2 separate regions of the Homo sapiens genome follow, and region 1 is linked to region 2. The links are contacts of gene promoters, found by promoter capture Hi-C in blood cells and fetal thymus (Javierre and others, 2016). All regions are on one chromosome and are shown on one strand. Each heading gives the region's core, a stretch centred on a gene start or on the middle of the fragment in contact. The rest is flanking DNA. Distances are from core to core; before and after follow the strand shown. Region 1 overlaps ARHGEF15 (Rho guanine nucleotide exchange factor 15). Region 2 holds the start of DNAH2 (dynein axonemal heavy chain 2).

The links. Contacts are between HindIII fragments. The CHiCAGO score rates a contact against its expected background, and 5 or more counts as called.
Region 1: a fragment that was not itself captured here is called in contact with the fragment with the promoter of DNAH2 in region 2 in 1 of 17 cell types (activated CD4 T cells); the score reaches 7.6 in activated CD4 T cells.

The regions. Positions count from the first base shown.
Region 1 is chr17:8,316,330-8,321,387 of GRCh38, reverse strand. ARHGEF15 (Rho guanine nucleotide exchange factor 15) reads right to left here. Exons shown (of 16, transcript NM_173728.4): 10 at 2,927-3,001; 11 at 2,726-2,818; 12 at 2,478-2,638; 13 at 2,229-2,381; 14 at 1,994-2,076; 15 at 1,785-1,889; 16 at 1-546. The coding sequence ends at 395. Among named protein-coding and RNA genes, the nearest start is that of ARHGEF15, 8.6 kb to the right of the region's middle. The HindIII fragment of the contact is 1,237 bases long and covers 1,004-2,240 here.
Region 2 is chr17:7,715,469-7,720,996 of GRCh38, reverse strand. DNAH2 (dynein axonemal heavy chain 2) reads right to left here and starts at 3,253. Exons shown (of 86, transcript NM_020877.5): 1 at 2,198-3,253; 2 at 1,097-1,276. The coding sequence starts at 1,262. The HindIII fragment of the contact is 13,987 bases long and covers 13-5,528 here.

The DNA of each region.
Region 1 (5,058 bases), core at 373-2,872, 600 kb before region 2:
GCTTCCTGCTCATTCCTGTTCCCAATTTTATCCTACGACTTTATCTCCAATGAGGCCCTTTTTCAACTGCCATGACCTAGATTTGTCTTCCTTGGCCCTGAGCATAGCAGGAATACTCATTGGCCATAGGCTCAGCCAGCTCAGTACCCATTGGCTGCTCTGCACTAAGCCTCTGTCTCCATTGGCCACACATTCAAGGCATCCTCATTCATTCTTATTGCTGTGGGTTCAGGCGGCCGTTTTCATTGGCTGCTCTGTCCTGAAGCTCGATCTCTATGGTTGCCACGAGAGGTAGTATCTCCACTGACAGTGAATCCAATGGATGAATGGGCTTTGTTCTCTCCGTGCCACACTGGTAGGTGTCTCCCAACATGTGCCCCCTCCTCAGCCTGCATTAGGGTGGGGGGGCATTGGGGGTGCCTGAAGAAGATCCAACAGCCTCGAGAAGCCTCTGGTTCTGGCGAAGGTGCCTCCTCCTTTCGTGTTCCCCTGTGACTTCACACACCAGCTGGGCAGGGAAGGCCCCAGGAAGCCCCTTCAGCCAACCTGGGGGAAGAGAGACAGAGGCTCCAATGAGGTGGGGGCAGGGAGCAGGTGAGGAGGCAAAGGGGGCCTCGTGGGGTCTCAGGCCTTCAGGGTCATTGTAGGTGTGGGAATTCATGGACAAGCCTGGAGCATCGGTAGAAAGGGCATCAGAAGTGGAGGTGACAGCAGCTCGGAGAGAGTCTGGGCTGCTCTTCCGTCAAGCCCTGCAGTGGCTGCTCATGTCTCTTGGAGTAAGAGGTGGAGTCCTTGCAGAGACCTGTCAGGTCCTGCGTGATCCCATCCCTGCCACTTCTATGACCTCATTTGCTTCTCCCCCTTTCTCTCTCCTGCTAGTCACACTGGCCTCCTTACAGTTCCTCAGTCACACACCAGCCGCAGGGCCTTTGCACTGCCTGCTGCCTCCAGCTGGGACACTCTTCCCCCAGACACCATGGGCCTAAATTAGCTCCATCAAGCTTCATGTTGCCTTCTCAGTGAGGTCCACCTCGGCCTCCCTATTGAAAATTTCAGTCTGCCCAACCCTGGAACTCCTGACCTTCTTTGCTCTGCTCACTTTTTTTTTTTTCCATAACACTCATAACCTTCACATGTACTTTATAATTTACTTATCTATTTTGCTCATTCTTTATCGTCTGCCTCCTCTGCTAGAACGTAGCTCCAGCAAGGAAGGAAGTGTGATATATTTGATTCACAGTCCCTAGAACAGCGAGTGGCACTTTGTAGGTGCTTAATAAATATTTATTGAATGAATAAATGAAACACGGCCAGGCGCAGTGGCTCACGCCTGTAATCCCAGCACTTTGGGAGCCTGAGGCAGGAGGATCACTTGAGCTCGGGAGTTCAAGACCAGCCTGAGCAACATAGTGAGACCCCCCACCTCCATTAAAAAAAAAAAAGAATAGAAATAAGGCCTGGCACCAGAGGCTCATGCCTGTAATCCCAGCACTTTGGGAGGTGAAAGGGGACGGATCACCTGAGGTTAGTTCGAGACCAGCCTGGCCAACATGGTGAAACCCCATCTCTACTAAAAATACAAAAATTAGCCAGACGTGGTGGTGGGCACCTGTAATCTCAGCTACTTGGGAGGTTGAGGCAGGAGAATCCCTTGAACCCAGGAGGCAGAGGTTGCAGTGAGCCGAGCTCACACCACTGCACTCTAGCCTGGCTGACAGAATGAGACTCTGTCTCAAAAAATAATAATAATAAATACAAAATAAATAAATGAAAGACTTTCTCACCTTCAGGGGTCTTGTGCAGGTGTTTGGGGGCAGCCCTGGACTCCAGACTCCGTCCTTCAGTCTTGGCAGGTGCAGACGACTCTGAACACAGTTCCTGGGAACAGTCTGGTTGGGGGTGGGTGACATTAAAGTGATTCTGTTTAGCTTCTCCCCCATATTCCTCTAAGACTCGCTTTTTCTTCCCTCATCCCCTCTAGGGGGATACTCACCACAGTCCTCATAGATGGTGTCTGGGGAGCAGGGAAGGGGGCCTGGGGTTGGGAAGGCTCCCAGCCAGCGCTGCATGTCTGATCTGGTGGGGATATTGGGAAGTGTCACAGTTGGCCCAAAAGATCCTCTGGGGCTGAGGCAGGAGCCACAGAAGAGAGAGACTGGGGAAGTGGGGGAGGTCTGAGAGGTCAGATAAGTGTCCCAAGGTTGTTTTCTGAGGGAAACACAACTCACAGGGAAGAAGCTTGGAGTAGTCGGTGGGTGGGGCGGCCCTGGTGGTTGCTGAGAAGGGAGAGGCGGAAGGTAGGGGGTCCAGATGGATCCGGAACCTGCTGGGCCTGGACCAGGGAGCGATGGGCATAGTCCAGAACCTGTAACCGCTGCCCACTGCCCAGGGATGAGGTCGTTCAGAAGGACAGCAGGGGTCCCGCTGGACCCCTCCTGCCCACTCCAGCCTGGGCTCCTTCCTTCCCTAGGACTCACCTCTTAGGCTGAGTGATGAGCAGCAGGTCGCTAAAGAGCAGCAGGCAAAGAGGGGTGAAGCGGGGGCGCGAGGCAAAGAGCACGCCCCCCCTCCGGCACCCTAACTCAGTCAGCTCTCCCTGGAATTCCAGGCGCCGTGACCAGGAGACCAGGGGCAGGGCCTGCGAGGAAGCGGAGGCAGAGGAGGTTCTAGCGTGGCAGCAGCAACATGGGGCAGGGCAAGATGGGGAGCCTGGGCAGCGATGTACCTTGACTTTGTGGAAGCGCAGCCTTTGGGTGAGCCGGATCAGCTCTTCAGTCTGCTTCATGCGCCCCACCTCAGCGCTGCAACGCTCGATGATCTAGGTAAGGGGAGCTGTGTCACCACCCCAGCGGCCAGCCCCCTGCTCCCTACCATTTCTCTCTACCACCTTGTCACCTCCCCCTGCTTCAGCTTCCCCACTGCCCACCTTGCTGACAGCACCCAGGGCCTTCTGGGCATTCTCCTGACGGCTGGACCCCTCTTCTGTCTGGCGCAGGATATTCTGGGGACAAGGAGGAAGGGTGACTGGGCCCCCTGCTCTGTGGCCCTGGGATTCAGAGGGGCCACAGCTCAGAGGACCCTGTCTGTTTCAGCCAGTTTCAACAAGGCTGACAGACCTCATCACTCACCATCTGCAGAACCCTGAGCAAGTCCTGTTACCTCTCTGAGCCTCAGCTTCCCTATCTGTAAAATGGGGCTAATACCCACCTAGCATATCAATAGCATTGTTTTGAGGATTCAAGAAGGCAATATATGTAAAGTGCTTAGCATAGTTCTTGGCACATATTAAATGTTGAAAAGAAGGTTCTTATTTTTTTTTCTTCCGGAGTCTGGCTCTGTCACCCAGGCTGGAGTGCAGGGGTGCGATCTCGGCTCACTGCAACCTCTGCCTCCCGGGTTCAAGTGATTCTCCTGCCTCAGCCTCCCAAGTAGCTGGGATTACAGACGTGTGCCACCACGCCCGACTAATTTTTTTGTATTTTTAGTAGAAGCGGGGTTTCACCATGTTGGCCAGGCTGGTCTTGAACTCCTGACCTCAGATGATCCACCCGCCTCGGCCTCCCAAAGTGCTGGGATTACAGGCATGAGCCACCGTGCCTGCCCCGAAGGTTCCTATTATTTTAATAATTATTAACCAAAACTGTTAGTGCAGGCAATATAGCAGAGTAGCTAAGAGTGCTTAGATTACAATTTTGTCTCCATCAATTATTTCTGTATGACCTGAGGCAAGTTATGTGACCTGTGCCTTAGCTTTCTCATGTCTAAAGTAGGACAAGTAATAGTTCCTACCCTCACATAGTTGCAGGTAAGGTTACACAGGTGTATAGCACTTAGAACCATTCCTAGAAAGCTTAATAGCTGTTGAGCTATTTTGATTAGTATCATTATTATTATTTTGTTGTCTACAATGGGGATAGATAAAGCTGAATAAGATCATAAAGACACTGATAATCTAGTTGGGAACTCTTCACATAAAGATCCCCTCATTCACTGGGCTCAGTAGCTCACACCTATAATGCTAGAGCTTTGAGAAGCTGAGATAGGAGGATTGCTTGAGGCCGGGAGTTCAAGACCAGCCTGGCCAACATAGTGAGACCCTGTCTCTATAAAAATAAAAATTAATAAATAGCCGGGCATGGTGGCATTGTAGTCCCAGCTACTCTAGAGGCTGAGGCACAAGGATCCCTTGAGCCCAGGAATTTGAGGCTGCAGTGAGCCGTGATCGTGCCAGTGCTCTAAAGATCCCCATATTGGGAGACCTGGTTAGAAAGGACTCTCTGCTTTGCTATAGAAGAGAGTGTCTTAGGCCGGGTGCAGTGGCTCACGCCTGTAATGCCAGCACTTTGGGTGACTGAGGCAGGTGGACTACATGAGGTCAGGAGTTCGATAGCAGCCTGGCCAACATGGTGAAACCCCATCTCTACTAATAATACAAAAATTAGCCAGGCATGGTAGTCCACACCTGTAATCCCAGCTACTCAGGAGGCTGAGGCAGGAGAATCGCTTGAACCCGGGAGGCAGAGGTTGCAGTGAGCCGATATTGCGCCACTGTACTCCAGCCTGGGAGTGAGACTCCGTCTCGAAGAAGGAGATGGAGAAGAGGAGGAGGAGGAGGAAGAAAGTGTCTCAAATCTCAAACTTTTTTTTCCCCCGTATCACCCCACTAAGTTGCCTTTTTAAGATAATTTTCCCTAAACATCTCCCTCACCATGAAAGTTTAATTCTACAGATCTACTGGAACTCTGTTTATGCACTAAAGCTTAATGGAGTACAACTGTTGGAATAACTAAGATTATTTTCACCCCCAAAGAACCAATTTTTGCCCCCTTGGGGGTGATACCACCCCAGCTGGGAAGGCATGTGGGTAGAAGAATATAGCCAGAGACAACCTCAAAAACCGCTCACACACTCCCCCTGAGACCCAGCGAGCAGAAGGGACTTGCCTAAGGTCACTCAGAGAGTCAGTGGCAGAGCTAGGTGTGGAACTCATGTCTCCAGCCAGAGGGCCTTTCCCTGCACCTGGACCTAGAGGCAGTCCAGGTAAGGGGAAGAGCACAG
Region 2 (5,528 bases), core at 2,004-4,503:
GAAAAGAAAGCTTGGAGCTGGGAGAGGCAGAAATCCTTGCTGTTCGAAGGCCAACACATTCATTTTAAAGCTCCTTCCCTTACCTCCCCAGAGGATTCTCCATACTGAACCTCACTGTCTTCCCTCCCATCTTCCCCTACTCCTCCTAGCAGCGAGCAATCCCATTTTAACTGCTTTCACCTGAGCACTTCAGAACTCAGAAGGATACATTCTGCACATTTCTAAGATCCTGGAACCTAATGCAAGTTCTTATGGCCCAGGGACTTTTCTCCCATGCCCACGCTTAACCTCTCAACCTTTAATTTTAGAAGGGGATTCTATTTCACAAGCTACTATCAGTGTAAAGGAGCTCCAGGTAAAGAAGGAGGTCTACACTTAGCTCATAGTCCTGTCTACACTGACCAGTGCTCTCAGGGAGATCCCAGCAATAGCAACAACTACCAAAAACCTTCCAACCTTACTGGCTCCGGCTCACCCACAGGAAAGGAATCCCTCAGGTCAAAGCCACAAGAGGCTGCCTCGTTAAACTCTTTCCTCCCTAGATCTAGACTTCTTTCCTGTCATCCTGAACCTGAACCTCCGCAGTCTACCAAGTCCCTGCCAAAATGAGGGCGGAGATAGAACAGCCCTCAACAGATGGTAGAAAGCATCAGCCGGGCTTTGGATTCAAAGGGTGGCAAAACAGGCTGAGTCTCCATGGTGATGGGCTTAATGGGAGAAAAACATTATTTGTTTTGCCACCCAGGGTGAAAATGGGAAAAAGGAAGAGATCAAACCCTCTTCAGTGGGGTAGGAGCAACCAGGAACACTTGAAATAAGGAGGAAGAGGCTAGAGAAAGGACTGGTTGGTGAACTCCTGGTATATTGTGGGAAATTTTAAGACAGAAAGAACAAGGATGAGGCTGGCCAGGAGGAAGACATACAAAAAAAGGACTCAGTGGCAGGGCTGCTGAACCTCCATGGCTGGGGGCGTCACTTAGCCCGTTTCCTGCCCAGAAGCAACAGCGCCTGCTCCCCAGCCCTAAAATGCCTCCAAGCCCCTCTGACTTTCCCCACCCTCCATTGCTAAGCATCCTCTGCCCCAGCAAGTACCCACCAGGCTCCTCCTTGGGGAGCTCAGCCTGCAGCTCTGGCTCACTGACAGCCGGGGCATTCCCCTGCTCCTGTGTGGCCACAGCAGCCCGAGTGGCCCGCCCTGACCAGCTTGCCTGGGAGCTTCCTCGGCCACTCAATCGCTGCTTCTTCTCAGCTTTGCTGGACATCGTGCAGGCAAAACCTACAGGTATACAGGAGTGGAGAGTCTACAAGCAGATACCACCCCTGAACCAGCCCCCTGATACAAGCAGTCCCTTTTGAATTCATAAATTGACTGAAACTCAATATGATCATCTTTTCTGGTGGTACCCACACCCTGCTCCATTAACCACAAGGGCTCTGTACTCCACAGGGGCCTGGGAGGCCTTGCTGTTTTTCCCTAGGATATCCTACTGTCTTCGGGGCACTGGGCTAAAAATCAAAGTCAGTCCCTCAAGGCACTAGGAACAAATGGGAGTTAAAGATGATGGCCAGGCTGGGTGCGGTGGCTCATGCTTGTAATCCCAGCATTTTGGGAGGCCGAGCCGGGTGGATCACCTGAGGTCAGGAGTTCGAGACCAGCCTGGCCAACATGGCAAAACCCCGTCTCTACTAAAAATACAAAAAATTAGCCAGGAGTGGTGGTGCGTGCCTGTAATTCCAGCTACTCGGGAGGCTGAGGCAGGAGAATCTCTTGAACCCGAGAGGTAGAGGCTGCAGTGAGCCAAGATCATGCTACTATACTCCAGCCTGGCTGACAGAGTGAGACTCTATCTCAAAAAAAAAAAAAAAAAAGATGGCCAGACACCCCACTAATGAGGATTTAGAACCTCTATCTCTGCCCCGGGGTATGAGAACATAAGATAATCAGGAAAAGATCTATCAAGCTGAAGTGTGGTTGCCCAAACCCTCATCCACTCTACCCTCCAGGACCATGAGTGAGTGAGAGAGGATCAAGGAAGGGGTGCACATCCCCCATCCTTTGTCACTGTTCAATCATTCAAGCAAACCAAGATGATTTTCCTATGTACCTCTTTTCCTCCCAAGTTAAATGGAAATATGCTCCTCCCAATCCCACTAAAATCTGCAACATCTGTAAACAGAGAAAAACAGTATTTGCCACCTGGGTCTATCGCTTTGAAGTCCTGAGGGGCAGGAACACTGTTTTGTGTGTACTGAGGTCTCTTAGCAGAGTTGGCTGAGGAACTCTGTGCTAATGGTTAAGATCAGTCAGGATCATTTATTTGACTCAAAATGCCCTGAGAACAGATTGGAAGAAAGAAGGACAAAAGTCATCCAATCATAAATTTCAAATTGTGTCATGAGGAAAAAGCAATTGGGGCACGAGGAAGGTCACAGTGGTGCCTCTCTCAGAAAGGTAGGATGGCAGGAAGCGGGGATCTCGGACAGGTGCTCAGAATCCCAGGCGCAAAGTCTGAGGCGCTGGGCACTCTCTTTTCATTAGGCTGCAGCCTAACGGCACCTGTGGCTCTCCTTCCTCATCCCCACAGGCTGCCACAGGCATTGATCTCAGGTTATGAATTTCAAACTTGAAGGATTTGTACTTTGCTCCAAGGAAAAACGTTCTGTTAGGCCAGCAAATCAATAAAACCAACTACAGCAAGGAGGCTTCCTCCATCAGTCTCCAGAGAAGCATCAAGCTGCGCTTTCCTGCCTCAAACTAGAGCCTGAGGCGCATGCACCGTGGGGTTCACCACGCGATCCCACACCGCAGGCCCCAGGAGGAACTGCTCTGCTAAGTCGGGGCTCACTCTAGTACTAGGAAATACCGCAGGGGCCAGCAGTATTTATCCTGCAGTATAAATCCAGCAGTATTTATCCAGCAGTATTTATACCAGCAGCTGGTATCCTTAAACTGGTTACCAGCAGGCAAATTTCCCCTCAGAATGGCTCTTCCCCCCCAGCTGTCACAACTGCCCCTTCTCCTCCCCCTCCCCCACACAAATATTCCTTGCTCCCTCTCCCTCCACAACTGCCTCTTCTCCCCAACAACTGTCCCTTCCTACCCCGACACTACTGCCCCTTCTCCCCAGCACTCCTTCCCTCCTTCCCTCTGCCCCCGACACACACCTTGCCACGCTGACCCTCCCCTCCCTAGACCGACCGATGGGCCACTCTAAGAAGTTGCCCCTCGCAGCCCTCTCGGGCCGGCGTCTGCACGCGTCCCCATGGCAACCCCGGGCAGGGAGGGGCGAGTGGCCGGTGTGCGGCCCCTCGGAGCCCGCCTCCTCCGCGCAGGCGCCCTGGATCCCTGCTTCGCGGCCCCACCCCGCCCAGGTCTACCCCTCAGGGACCCAGGGCTTGAAGGCTCCGGGACTAAAGGAAAGTAGCCACATCTGGCGAGCCGAAGGGTGCGGGGGGCCTGGTGTCAGGACCCAGCTGGAAGGGCTGGGGCGAGAGACAGTGAGCCACCGCCCCGCAGGACATTGAAAAGGCAGGGAGAACCCAATCGCCCGACCCCGCGCCCAGGTCTGTGCGCCCCAGCCGGAACGGGTCCAGCAGATGGCGCCGGGCGCCAGGCCGGCGAGGGATATTCGCGATGTAGAAGGCGTTCCAGGATTTCCAGGCAGCCGTGGGTGCAGCTGGATCCGGGGGAAAAACCGGGCCTGGAGCACCCTTGCCCTCCTGCTCCTTCCCCCTTCTTAGTTCGGATTGGGGTCTAGGATTGCGGGGGGGCGGCGCGGGGCGGGGAAAGGGAGGGAAGACGGGAACTGGAGTTTTGGGAATCTGAGGATTGGCTTTCGAAGGCATCGCTGGTTTTTGGGGGGGATGAGAGGCGGGGACTCCCTGGGGAAGGTGACCGGGCCTGGGAGGGGCTTCGCTCTCCATAGGAACAAAGGCTGCGTCGTGAGAGAGGAGGCGAGAGGGGAGGGCTATGAGGGCCGGGGTACATCTCCGAGGGTGCCAGGGGGCGCTGCGGGCCGGGGCTGCTAGAAGGCGCCTGGAAGACCGCTGTACCTGGTGCCGGGAGGAGCTTTGGGGAGACCTGGGAAATACAGGGAGGAAGCCGAGTGGGGGGATGGGAAGGCGCCCTCCCTGTTTCCATCAATAGTGCCTAATTAAGACAAAGCCAGCAGCGAGCCCACTGATTACATTTCCATGAGGAGCGAAATTTATGACATTTTCTTTGCTGGATGAGGAGAAGAGAAGCTGGCACCTCAGTTCCCCCATTTTCTGTTTGGCGTTCACACCTAACAGATCTCATTATGCCAGCCTGGCACTACCAGGAGTGGCAGTCCCTGGTACTCCTGAAGAGCAAGTGGATTAACCACACCCTATCCCAGCGCTGACCTCACCCTCCCACCTACCGTATCTTTATTCCCAGAAGTGTCAACCCTTTCCCTCCCCCCGACCCCCAATAATTCCTCCTGCCCAGCCAGACTCCTGTTGCTGACAGCAGGAATGGAAGGAGAGGAGTACCGCCCACCCCAAAACCAGCTGCACAGCTAGCACAGCTAAGATGGAACGTGGAGGTGTTCCTCTAGCCAGATAGGCCATGGGTGGCAGACAGAGGTGATGTGGTTGGCCAGAACCCCTAGGGAAAAGTCCCAAAGGAGTGAAAATTTGCTGGAGGCGTGGGGTGGGGAGCCTCAGGGGCAAGGTTCATGGGTCCCTCGGGGAAAGGAACTTTGCACAGACCCCATTTCTTTTCTTAAACCCCCCTCCCCAACTGTGGCTGTGCCTACGGATCCCAGCCCCCCACATTATGCTAAATAGGTAATCAAACATCTCGCTTTGCTAATTACTGCTCAATCCGATTAAACGCTGCTGAAGCTCATCAACAGAGGTGGAGGTAGGGGGAAGGGACGAAGGCGGGGCAACCACAGCTAGCTATGATGGGGGTCTTTTCCCCAGGGGCTCTTCGGGGCTAGAGAAACAGCCAGGGTTGCAAGACCGTGTACATCCCAAAGGAAAGGGCAGAAGAGTTGTGACCTCGAGCCTCAGCCTTGCTGCACCTCCCAGCCACGGCCCTTTTCCTCCTCCCAGAACCTTCATTACCCTCCGAACCCAGGCATCCGGCCATTCCCACAGCTCCCCACACACATCCCTGTCCCAGATTTAATAAGTTCTGTTCCCTCATTGTCAATATTTGATTTCTCAGAGCCATCTCCACGGAGAGGGGGGTGGGGGATCTTTCCTTGCCTCCCCCCTACTTTGGCCCTCTTTTGCCCACCCCCAGTCTCTTTGTGCCCCCAACCTTCTCTGAACTTGCTGACTTAATGAAATGATATTAAAGTCTTAAGCAACTCCAAAAGAATGGTTGTTATGGTGAAGGGAGTGGGCAGGACGCCTGGGTCCCGGAGGGGAGCAAAGGCTGAGGAGGGGGAAAGGGAGCCAGAGGCTAAGGTCTAGAGACCCCAGTCCCTAGTGGGGAACAGCAGATTTGGGGTGAGCTGGGGGCCAGACCTCTGGATCTTGGCTGGAAGCAGGGG